3 separate regions of the Homo sapiens genome follow, and all the other regions are linked to region 2. The links are contacts of gene promoters, found by promoter capture Hi-C in blood cells and fetal thymus (Javierre and others, 2016). All regions are on one chromosome and are shown on one strand. Each heading gives the region's core, a stretch centred on a gene start or on the middle of the fragment in contact. The rest is flanking DNA. Distances are from core to core; before and after follow the strand shown.

Region 1 (4,066 bases), core at 254-2,753, 310 kb before region 2:
AGAACTTGAAGACTGGTTTTCTGAAATAAGAGAGTCAGACAAGAATAGAGAAAAAAGAATAAAAAGGAATGAACAAAACCTTGGAGAAATGTGGGATTATGTAAAGATACCAAATCTATGACTCATTGATGTCCCTGAAAGAGATAGGGTGAGTGTAAGCAACTTGGAAAACATATTTTAGGGTATCATCCATGAGGATTTCCCCAACGTAGGTAGAGAGACCAACATTCAAATTCAGAAAATGCAGAAAACCCTAGTACAATACTTCACAAGAAGATCATCCTCAAGGCACATAATCATCAGATTCTCAAAAGTCAAAATAAAAGAAAAAAGGTTAAAGGCATCTAGAAAGAAAAGTCAGGTCACCTACAAAAGGAAGCCCATCAGACTAACAGTGGACCTCTCAGCAGAAACCCTACAAGCCGTAAGAGATTGGAAGCCAATATTCAACATTCTTTAAAAAAAGAAATTCCAACCCAGAATTTTATATATGTCCAAACTAAGCTTCATAAGTGAAGGGGAAATAAGATCCTTTATAGACAAGCAAGTGCTGAGAAAATTCATTACCACCAGATCTGCCTTAAAAGAGCTCCTGAAGGAAGCACTAAATATGGAAAGGAAAGACCATTACCAGCTGCTATTAAAAAACACATAAGTACACAGACCAGTGACACTATGAAGCAACCACACAAACAAGTCTGCATTATAACCAGCTAACATGATGACAGGATCAAATCTATATATATCTTTACTGGTTTACCTTAAATGTAAATGGGCTAAATGTCCTGATTAAAAGGCACAGAGTTGCAGGCTGGATAAAGAAACAAGACCCATTGGTATGCTATCTTCAAGAGACTCATCTCACATGCAATGACACCCATATGCTCAAAATAAAGGGATGGAGAAAAATCTACCAAGCAAATGGAAAAATCCATTCTGAGTGATTGATACATAAATTATACATTAATACATAAATTATAATTTAGTCATATGGTTAATATTATAGTGCAGAAATATTTGTTCTATATGCATCATAACGAGAAGATCTCAAAAGAATAGTATTTAGTTGGTAAAAGCAAGTTTTTTTTTTTTTGAGATGGAGTCTTGCTCTGTCGCCCAGGCTAGAGTGCTGGAGTGCAGTGGCGCAGTCTCGGCTCACTGCAACCTCCGCCTCCTGGGTTCAAGCAATTCTCCTGCCTCAGCCTCCCAAGTAGCTGGGACTACAGGTACGTGCCACCATGTCAGCTAATTTTTTGTATTTTTAGTAGAGACAGGGTTTCACCGTGTTGGCCAGGATGGTCTCGATCTCCTGACCTCATCATCCACCCACCTCGGCCTCCCAAAGTGCTGAGATTACAGGCGTGAGCCACTGTGCCCAGCCGCAAATTTTTTTATATGTAACTATGTATTATAGTAAAATATAAAAACATGGATAGGAAAGTTACATACCAACTATTGATTAGTGATTAACTCTGGGGAGGGAAGAAGCAGAATGGAGATATATAGAGATACAGACATAGATATAGATGTATTTTTTTAAATCTCCAAATATTTTTCTTTTTTTTTTTTTTTCTTTTTATGGGACAGAATCTCACTCTGTCACCCAGGCTGGAGTGCAGTGGCACAAACTCAGCTCACTGCAACCTCTGCCTCCTGGGTTCAAGCAATTCTCATGCCTCAGCCTTCCACGTAGCTAGGATTACAGGCAAGCACCTCCACCTCCAGCTAATTTTTGTATTTTTAGTAGAGATGGGGTTTTGCCATGTTGGCCAGGCTAGTCTCAAACTCTCAACCTCAGGTGATCCACCTGCCTCAGCCTCCCAAAGTGCTGGGATTACAGGCGTGAACCACCATGCCTGGCCTAAATCTCCAAATATTTCTATAAAATTTTGTTTCCTAAAAATGGGGTGTGAAACAAGTATGACATAATGGCTGACATTTGGTAATTCATGAAAGGTAAATGAGTACTCACTATAATGCTTTCTTTTTCTGAATGTCTGAAATATTTCATGACATAAAATTTCATTAAAAGCAACCATTATAAGAATATTTCATATTGTCATAGCACTGACTATATGCCAAGCACCATTCTAAGTGCTTTACTTATATTACTTCCTTTAATACTCGTAATAACCTATGAGGTAGGTAATATTATTATCCCAATTTTACATATGGGCAAACTTAGGCCCAGAAAAGTTAAGTGACTTCCCAAAGGTCACACAGCAAACAGTATGGTTCCAGAATCTATGTTATCTATGCTCACTGTTTCTTTACCCTTTCTTTTAGAAAACCAGAAAGTAATAGCCTGCAATCCTCACTCAATGAAAATGATTAATGCAGAAAGCAACGGTCTATCTCCAAGAGAAAAAATCATGTTTTACCTTCTTTGCACCCAGAATGAGAAATCAACTAAATTCAGATAAAGTAAGCTATCTATATGTGATTTTAGAATTCAAGAAGTTATAGTATCATATATATTATTTCAGAAGCTATATAAGCTTCTTCCTTTTCCCCTATGTAAGCTAAACAAACTTTAAGCAACTCACTTGGCATTCTTTTCCGCATTTAAAAGAGCTTGTGCCAAATCCTTGTGGGCTTTTTCTGTTTCCTTTGTTAATTTCACATCATGTGCCCGAACTAGACACAGTTCCCTGAAATAAAGCAAAGAAATTTTTAATTCATATTTGGAGATTTCCAAAAAGTTTCTACCAAGAAAATCAGATTTATATTCAGGAATCTTCTCAGTTATCATGTGTACCTCCCTTCCCAGTTTTTCCACCTTATAAACCAAATCAAGAAATTGAGTGTACATTCTAGATGGAATCTTGCCAGGTTTGGAAATGAAATCAGGCTGGCAGGAATCAGACAGAAATAAGATGTAGGGGAGATCCTTTAGAATGGAGGGAGGCAGATGCTGACATGCAAGGCCGCCATGCTGGTCTACCCTGCTTTCTGATATGACTATCCTATCTTCTTTATTCTCACCACTAACCATCTTGCTTCAAGGTTAAAAGTTAGATGATCACTAACTTTGATGGCTATATGATACTTATTCTCTTTGAGATGTTAACATCCATAATGTTAACATCCATAATTATGGCACTGTTCTATAAACCTGATTAAGGTAAACATCTGTATTTTATTTTATTTTATTTTTCTGAGACAGGGTCTCGCTCCGTCACCCAGGCTAGAGTGCAGTGGCATGATCTTGGCTCACTGCAACCTCCACCTCCCGGGTTCAAGTGATTCTCCTGCCTCAACCTCCCCAGTAGTTGGGATTATAGGCATGTGCCACCACGCCTGTCTAATTATTTGTATTTTTAGTAGAGATGGGGTTTCACCATGTTGGCCAGGCTGGTCTCAAACTCCTGACCTCAAGTGATCCTCCCGCCTCAGCCTCCCAAAGTGCTGGGATTACAGGTGTGAGCCACCATGCCCAGCAACATCTATATTTTAGAAGAAAGAGTAAGTCTTTTCCATGTCAAATATATACAGAGTCTTCATTTTTATGTGAACTTGCATAACCCATTTATCTATATCTATATCTACAATGACATCTAGTTCTTTTTGTTCTCTTGCTAAACATGAAAAGGAAACAGAAGAACCTTGGCCTTTAACCATTCCACTTTCCCTAAATATTTTTTACTCCCTTTAGAGACATGACATTGACTTTTGTTTTGTGTTTAAGATAATCACAGTTTTTACCTGGTCAGTTCTTCAATAACATGCTTGAAATTATACAATTCTTCTAAAATGCGCTGGTCCATCACTCGCTGAGTTACCAAGTCTTTGTAGAAATCAATCATCTGCCGAGCAATCTGGTCAAGCATTTGCACATACCTCTCTCTGCATGACAAACAACCAAAAAGCTCCTAGATCTGATAAATGAATTTAGTAAATTCTCAGGTTACAAAATCAATGTACACAAATCAGTAGCACTGCTATACACCAAGAAAACCAAGCTGAGAATCAAATCAAGAAATCAATCCCTTTTACAACAGCTGCAAAAAAAAAGAAAAAGAAAAAGAAAAGAAAATACTTAGGAATATACTTAACCAAGGAGACG
Region 2 (4,267 bases), core at 1,534-4,033:
TTGTAGGATTTGGAGATGGCGCTACCAGGAGCCACAGTGCAGACAGGCAGGGTGTGCGGCCAGCTGTGGGTGAGCATTCCAAATCCAGGATCAATTGGTTGAACACCTTAAGCCAGCCCAGAGCAGGTATTCTGGAGCCTTGGGAGGTCAAGGTCTATGATAAAACATTGAGGGCATCACACATTGCTCCAAAAGTAGTAGTGACATAGAAGAAAATTAACATTTGCTGCTTTTTTCTCTGTATTCAGAACTGGGCTAAGTGTTTTACATTTGGTCTTCACAATTCTGCAAGGCAGGCATTATTATTCCCATTTAAAGCTGAGGAAACTGGCTGGGCGAGGTGGTTCCCGCCTGTAATCCCAGCACTTGGGGAGGCTGAGGCGGGCGGATCACGAGGTCAGGAGTTCGAGACCAGCCTAGCCAACATGGTGAACCCCCTCTCTACTAAAAATACAAAAATTAGCTGGGCATGGTGGTGGGCACCTATAATCCCAGCCACTCGGGAGGCTGAGGGAAGAGAATCGCTTGAACCTGGGAGGCAGAGTTTGCAGTGAGACGAGATTGCTCCAGCCTAGGTGACAGAGACTGACTTGGTCTCAAAATAAATAAGTAAAAAAAATAAAATAAAATACAGCTGAGGAAACGGACACTTGGGAAGGACTCTTCAGTTTGCCAGCAAGGAAGAGGCACGACTAGGAGGGGTCTCCAATCCGCTGGCCAGAACAATTTGGATATCCAGGCCCTTGTCGAACAAAAGGCATGTTGAGGACAGAAAGTAACTTGCTAATTGCTACCTAGGGTCTTATCCAAGTCAGCAGTGATCCAAATTAAGACTTCCTGACCTGTATGTAGTCCTATCTTCTGTCCTGAGCCAGACTGTGTCCCTAAACACACTGTGTTATTGGCATTTTGGCCAATTAAGTGACCTAAATATCTGGGGTGGGCCTCATTTATGGAGATTGAAGGACCTGGGATCAGGAGAACTCTGGGCAAGAAATTGCTCCTGGGGAAAAGAGAGGAAGCTTTTGCAAATGTCTGAACAGGTTTCAGAACATGGGGCCAAAGATCACCTTGTGAGAGTGAAAATGCAAATCAACTGCGATATGCAAATCAAGCAACCCAAACTAATTAGAAAATACTGGTTGCCATGGCACAGTGGCTCACGCCTGTAATCACAGCACTCTTGGAGGCCAAGGCAGGCAAATCACAAGGTCAGGAGTTCGAGACCGGCCTGGCCAACATGGTGAAACCCGCCCCCCCCCCCCCCCCCCGCCTCTACTAAAAATACAGAAATTAGCCGGACGTGGTGGCAGGCACCTGTAATCCCAGCTACTCGGGAGGCTGAGGCAGGAAAATTGCTTGAACCCAGGAGGCGGAGGGTGCAGTGAGCTGAGATCGCACCACTGCACTCCAGTGTGGGTGACAGAGCAAGCCTCCGTCTCAAAAAAAAAAAAGAAAAGAAAGGGACACTTTTAATCACAACCCAGAATTTCTGATCAGTTCTCTCTGGATAGTTCCAGCCCCCTCTGAGAGGTAGCTGTTTCTGTTTAGAGTGAAACAAGGTGCTCTGGGCCTGACAAACAGCTCAGTTTGCCTGGGCTATTAAGCTAGAGGCTAAAAAGGGGCTTCCCTGACTCAAGCATTTGGTACTCCCTCAAAACTTCAGTCAGACTGTGGCAGTTCCTGCTTGTCGGGAGGCTGGGCAGGATGACGAAAGGTCCCTTGCATCTAACCATTTCCCCTGGACTGCCTCCCCTCCCCACAGATCCCTAGCCCCTTGAAGCCATGCGGGGTCCAACCTGTAAAGTTGTTGGAGATTCTGCAATCCCCTCTAGGGCAGCAGTCTTTGAAGCTGCAGTACCACGTGGTCAGGAGGTCCAGGTACCGCTGGCCCAACAGAGGAAGGCGCCAGCCTGGAAAAGGAGGAGCTGTGAGACCGAGAGGAGACCATCCGGTGCTCTACAGTGATGCGGCAACCTTGCCACACAACTTGTCAGGGACAGAGGGACACCCAGAACTCAGATTCTAACTCCCAGCCCCGACTCGGCCCACTGTCGGTCCTCAAGCCCTGCGTCCAAAAGCAGCAAGGGAGACGGCAGTCACCAGGCATGTCCACAGCGGACGTTCCCTAGAGCTGTCAAGAGCAACACCTTCGAATAACGCCAGGGTGGGCTGGGAGATGGCACAGGCGGTGCGAGAGAATCTGGAAAGCGCAGGGATCAGGGGAGGCGGGGGACGGGAAGCCGGGCGCCAGGGGGGTGCGCAGGGGACGCGGGTGGGGCAAGGGCGGTGATGGGGCTCCCTGCTCCGCGGAGGCTGCCCCCGCCCACAGCCGGTACCGGCGGCTGAGCAGAGCAGGACTGCGGGCCCAGATGTCGCCCCGGACAGGAGCGAGGCGACCACAGCCGCGCCCGGATCGCACTCTGCTCCGCAGCGAACGGCGGACCGTGGGGACGGGGTCTTACCCAGGGGCCCCGTGGCTGCCTCCTCGTCCTCGTCACAGTCGTCGGGCCACACCTGGCAGCTGAAGAGCGTCCAGTACCGCTTGGAGAGGGCACCCGCCGCCCTGAGCTGCTCCTGCAGGCGCTGGAAGCCCGGCCAGGCCCAGGCCGAGCCCGGCTCGTCGGTTCCCTCCCACGGCCTGGAGGCGCCGCGGGGCTCAGGCGCGCCCGGGAGCAGCAGCAGGAAAAAGAGCCAAAGCTGGCGCCACGGACCGCGAAGCATGGCCGGCCCCGAGCTGCGGGACCATCCGGCTGCCGGCCTAGCCAGGCTCCCTTAAGCCCGGGGCGGTCAGGCGGGGACCGCACTTCCTAGGCGGGCTTGAACCCGGGATTGGTGTTGCTGTGGCGACCGGCGGGCCGGGCTGAGTGCGCACTGGCAGCCTCCGTACACGTGACCCAGGCGGGAACCCGAAACCCTGTCTGGGGTCCTGAGAGGCAGTCCCGAGACTGACTTCAGGCCAGGTGCAACTAGCCGGCTTCCAGGAAGCAGTTTATTCTGGGTCGTGATTGTGGTTGCAAAGAAGGTGAACTCAGGCTTTGAAATGGCCACTGTCAATCACTCCGCTAGGACTTTCGGACGGCTCTGGTGGCCCATCAGAGGCCTACCGAATAAGGACACTCCTGCTTTGCCTCGCGTTTGCAGATCAACTTCCCGCCAACCTGTTAGAGGAAGCCGGAAAACCGTCTCAGTCAGGAGCGTTAGGCAGGCCAGGGGAGTCAGCTGAGTGGAGAAGAGGCCCTGGAAAGAAGGGCACAGCTAGGTGCCTGTCTGGCCAAGGTTGCCCTGGCTCCTCCGCAGAGGGAAATGAAACCGCAGCAAAACACCAGCAGGTTTCCACAGTGGGAGTCCACGAAAAGCAAGAGGAAGCTGATTGACGGGCTCCAGTCTGGAGGTGTTTGGAGTTTGGAAACCCCCCGAGTCATGGGTAAATCATGAGGCGTCATGTCAATGTAATTATATCTCATAAAAATCCGAAGTACTGTGTGCACTTTCTTGACTAGGTTTGCAACTTTCAAGTGCTGGGACTGAGCAGCCCATCCGACACCATTGGCAAAAGACTACAGGGCCTCTTTCCCTCAGCGCTCTCTTCTCCATAGCGAGGAGCATGGAACAAGGCTGTTAGATTTCAGAAGAGCTTAATGCATTGTTTAAAATCACCTGGCTTACTTCAGCCAAGCCAAAAAGCCGTCTTGTCTTAGGAGAAAACTGCTGTCTAGAGAGATCAGAGGACTTGGCTAATGTCATATGTTTAGTGGCTTTGAGGTTGGGCCCTCCAGACAGTAAGGTGAATACTAGCACCGTGTCTCACAAATGTCACAGGCAACTTGATTCATCTGTTCACCCCAGTCTCTTAGATCACACCGTGCCAGGTCTGCTCCATTCTCAGCAGCTCACCAAATTTGTGCCTTTCATTCGAACAGCTACAGAAACTAGATAAAGCACCTTTGCTAGGACACGAGGTTGAGTTGAAAAGTAAAATGTTTATAGTGTCTCAGCCATTCAGTGTGATGTCAAAAACTTTTCATAGAGTAGCAGCCATGGCACCAGCCCAGCACTGTGTACATCGAGCTTGCGGAGTCCACCGGAGACAGTTAACAGCACATACACCACAGTGCTTATTGGAAAACCAAAAAAAATTAGGCAGGGTGTGGTGGCTCACGCCTGTAATCCTAGCACTTTAGAAGGCCGAGGCGGGCGGATCACCTGAGATCAGGAGTTCGAGACCAGCCTGGCCAACATGGTGAAACCCAGTCTCTACTAAAAA
Region 3 (3,892 bases), core at 1,339-3,838, 300 kb after region 2:
TCTAAGTTTCACAAAGTACTATCAGATGCCCCAAGGGAATAAAAATTTCCCATAGATGTGAAGTCTATGTCTTCAAGTAGTATTATCTGGATCTTCAATATCCAAGCTCCTAGCCACCAATGGCTACTAAGCACTTGAAATATAGCTACTCCAAATAAAGATGTACTGCAATTGTTGTATATGTTGGATTTGAAGGCTTAGCGGAGAAAAAAGAATGTAAGATATCTCAATAATTTTTTACACTGATTACAAGTTGAAACGATAATATTTTGTATGTAGCAGGTTACATAAAATCATTAAAATCAATTTCATCTTTCTTTTTACCTTATAATGTGGCTACCAGAAAACAAAGTTATATAAATGGCTTATACTATATTTCTGCTAGACAGCACTGATCTCATATAAAGCAGCAATACAACTGTTGCAGTTCATTCAAAAGGAAAAAATACACCTAAGAAGAAGACAGGTGAATTTTAGGTCAAAAACGTAATTTGCATAAAGAATTTCATTTTTTTGATTTTTTTTTTCAGGGAGGAGAAGAAATAAGTATTTCTGGTTTTTTCTTTTTGCCATTTAAATACAAAAGCCATTTTCTTCTTGTGCTTTATTTATAGAATACATTGTTCTTCTTCTATTGCTAATCCAATGGTTCTACTTAGAGAGCCCTCTGAGGTATGGGGGAAAAGTTAGGAAAACACAGAATTGTGGAAATGATGGGAACTGACGATCATTTCGGCCCACCCCTTCATTTATAGGTATCGAATTTGAGATACTAAGACAGGAAGTAACTTACTTGAAAATCACAGGACTAATACTACCTACATCATGTAGGACATAAATGGAAACTCATAGTCATTACAGTGTTCAGGGCCACTACAGACTTGTATATAGCACAATGAATACACTATATTTTGTTCCCGAAAGAACTAAAATTGTATCTATTTTGTAGTATTGAATTTCAGGATTATCAATGACTTTGTTTTGGAATACAAAATCACATTGATATACTAGATGAGAGGTTAAAAAAAATCAGATTTTAGAGTCTGAAACCCAGTTCCACCACTTAGTTGTGTACCAAAGACAATTGTCACTGTTTCCTCATCAGTAAAACAGAGATACTATCATACTCAGGATGTTAAAATGATAGGAACACTATACACACACACACCCCCATGCTTATAGTGGATAGATGCATAACGCCAGTCCCTTTGTTTTCATTAGAAACAAATGATGTGTTTCTTGATCCTTTCTCTCCTCTCCAAAATGTCAACGCAGTCATATTATTAAGTCATAAAATAAAGATATAAGGGAAAAGATTACTAGAGTTAGTGGTGAAACCCAGTTTCAAATTTCCATCTTCCCATTAAAAAGCTTCAAAGCAATAGGTAAATCATTCAACTTCCCTAAGTCTATTTCCTCCAGTAAGTAATGCAGCCAAATCAATCAAAATGATTCAAATACAGCTGACCTGTAAACAACACATGGGTCTACTTATACACGGATTTTCTTCCACCTCTACCACCCTTGAGATAGCAGAACAAATCTCCCTTCTTCCTCAGTCTACTCGATGTGAGGCTAATGAGGATAAAGACCTTTATGATGATCCGCTTCCCCTGAATGAATAGTAAATATTGTTTCTCTTCCTTATGATTTTCTTAGTAACATTTTTTCTCTAGTTTATTGTAAGAACCGAGTACAAAATACATATAACATACAAAATATGTGTTAGTTGATTGTTTATGTTACCAGTAAGGCTTTTGGTCAACATCAGGCTATTTGAAGTTAAGTTTGCAGGGAATCAAAAGTTATAGAAAGAGTTTTCACTGAGCAAGTGTCAATGCTCCTAACCTCCGCTTTGTTCAGATGTCAAGTATAGTCCTATCTATGACTCAATAATGTATTGCTATGAATGCCACGTGGGTTTCTGAGGCCCAAACAGTATGTAGATAAGTTACAACACAAGCTTCAAACATTTTAAAATTAATATGAAGTATAATTTGACATTTCTAAAACACTTAATTTGAGATTGATCGTTTTCTATATTTAAAAGGAACATTCTCAAAACTACTTACATCTGGTTGAATAGCTTTAAATACTGGAACATCCATTAATGTTATCTGACCCTGAAATATAAAGTAAAAATGACAATTTCTTCTTTGGAATTCTATACCATAACATGTAACCTAAATTAAAATTATATTCTATACTAAAATATTACCAAATACTCAATTTTATAAGGGCTTATGGAAAACAAAATTTAGCCCCTGTACCATTAAATAGAATTATTTCTAATGATCTCATGTCTATTTATATTTTCTTGGAAGATAAATTGTGTAAAGTTAAAAAATAAAAATAATTTTAAAAATTTGGACAGTCACATTAAATTATAATCAAAAAATAAAAACCAGATTTATTAGTTCACATAGCAGTGTTCTTGTTATGATGATTACAGCTCCTCAAACAGTGGTATAAAATCAGATATTACTAAAAAGGTTTTCTTCCTAACTTATAAAAAAATAATGAAACTACACTAAAGCCAACATTATATCTAAGAGCTTTATATGCTATGGACCTATCCCACTTATGGCTATAGATATAAGACAAAAGTCAACACTATCAAGGAATAATATGCTATGACCAAGCACAGTTTATCTCTGGAATGCAGGAATGGTTTAACATTAGGAAATCAATATATTCTGTTAACAAATTAAAGGAGAATGAGAAAACAAATAAATTTATATTAAGAAATAAATGTTTTTCTAGATACCTTTCATCTAATAACACCTTCATATTTCATTTTTCAATTTTTTAATTAAAAAAACCAGTGAAAATGTTTCTTAGATATGTCAACAAAATACAGTTGGCTTAGAGAAATGGTATAGAGGGATGACAGCAATTACCATAATGGTAAATACATATTGCTACTTACCAAATTGAAGTGTAACTTATAAAGTTGCCCTAAAAAAAAATGTACAGCTTTTCTTACTTTTCCCACTTCATCCCTCTGTTTGCTCCACAGCTGTACTATTTTCCCCAATAATTCCCATATCCAGGTTTCTAAAAGCTGTCTCTTTTGCTGGACCTACAAATTCTAACTCAATAGCACCAATATGTAAATTATGTGCAAAACCGGAGAAGACAGAGGTAGGAGGCTTACCGCATATTCTTCTGGTGTAACCTTAAGAACATCGAATACCACAGCATCAAAGCTTTTCTTCAATTCAGAGCCTTTGTCACTTAAGGATTCAGAGCTGCTACTTTTCTGTTAAAGTGAAAGAAAATGCAGCCTTTTACATACTGTCTCACAATCAAGTGATAGAAACTAGATTGGCCTTAAAAACTGAGAAAACAAAACAGTAGGTTAACAAATGCTGCAGAAAAGCTGAGCACAACATGCTGCTTAGTTGTTAGAGTACCAGATAAAGGGTCAGACAACTTGAAATCTAAAACTGTGACTTTAAATTTTTAGGTTCTTGAATGAGTCATTTTCTTGTGTGTCAGTTTCCTCATCCTGACAACCTATCATTTCCTATAGAAATAAATGATTTTAACTAGTTCAATGATTCTCAAATAAGGTAAAGGGAAGTCAGGGGAGAAGGCTATACACTTACTTACAATTTTTTAAACTAATTTTTATTAAGAAAAAGACAAACTAGCTTTATAACAAGTTATCAGAAAATATTCAGAATGCTGTTAATTAAAGAGTTACATATAATCCATTCTTAGTTATGTGATCTGTTTGTGATAGTACAATTAATACTATTCTTCCTATTATATTACAAATTTAAGTTTTCCCTGCTTAAAAATTACTGTTTCAAGTTTGAATATGTTGTGGCTATACATAGAATGAAAGGTGGATTTTGGCCCTGAAAATCTTATTACTGTTAAAAAT

What was found. Contacts are between HindIII fragments. The CHiCAGO score rates a contact against its expected background, and 5 or more counts as called.
Region 1: a contact is called between a fragment that was not itself captured here and the fragment with the promoter of TOR3A in region 2, in 3 of 17 cell types (activated CD4 T cells, total CD4 T cells and naive CD8 T cells). The highest score is 5.9, in activated CD4 T cells.
Region 3: a contact is called between a fragment that was not itself captured here and the fragment with the promoter of TOR3A in region 2, in 1 of 17 cell types (erythroblasts). The highest score is 5.7, in erythroblasts.

The regions. Positions count from the first base shown.
Region 1 is chr1:179,393,683-179,397,748 of GRCh38, reverse strand. AXDND1 (axonemal dynein light chain domain containing 1) reads right to left here. Exons shown (of 26, transcript NM_144696.6): 10 at 3,706-3,846; 11 at 2,547-2,651. Among named protein-coding and RNA genes, the nearest start is that of AXDND1, 30 kb to the right of the region's middle. The HindIII fragment of the contact is 1,994 bases long and covers 507-2,500 here.
Region 2 is chr1:179,080,586-179,084,852 of GRCh38, reverse strand. TOR3A (torsin family 3 member A) reads right to left here and starts at 2,783. Exons shown (of 6, transcript NM_022371.4): 1 at 2,466-2,783; 2 at 1,800-1,913. The coding sequence starts at 2,724. RefSeq lists silencers at 1,159-1,218, 2,209-2,378, 2,519-2,808. The HindIII fragment of the contact is 9,470 bases long and covers 1,025-4,267 here.
Region 3 is chr1:178,783,788-178,787,679 of GRCh38, reverse strand. It overlaps RALGPS2 (Ral GEF with PH domain and SH3 binding motif 2), which reads right to left. Exons shown (of 20, transcript NM_152663.5): 3 at 3,158-3,262; 4 at 2,073-2,123. Among named protein-coding and RNA genes, the nearest start is that of RALGPS2-AS1, 59 kb to the right of the region's middle. The HindIII fragment of the contact is 1,246 bases long and covers 1,966-3,211 here.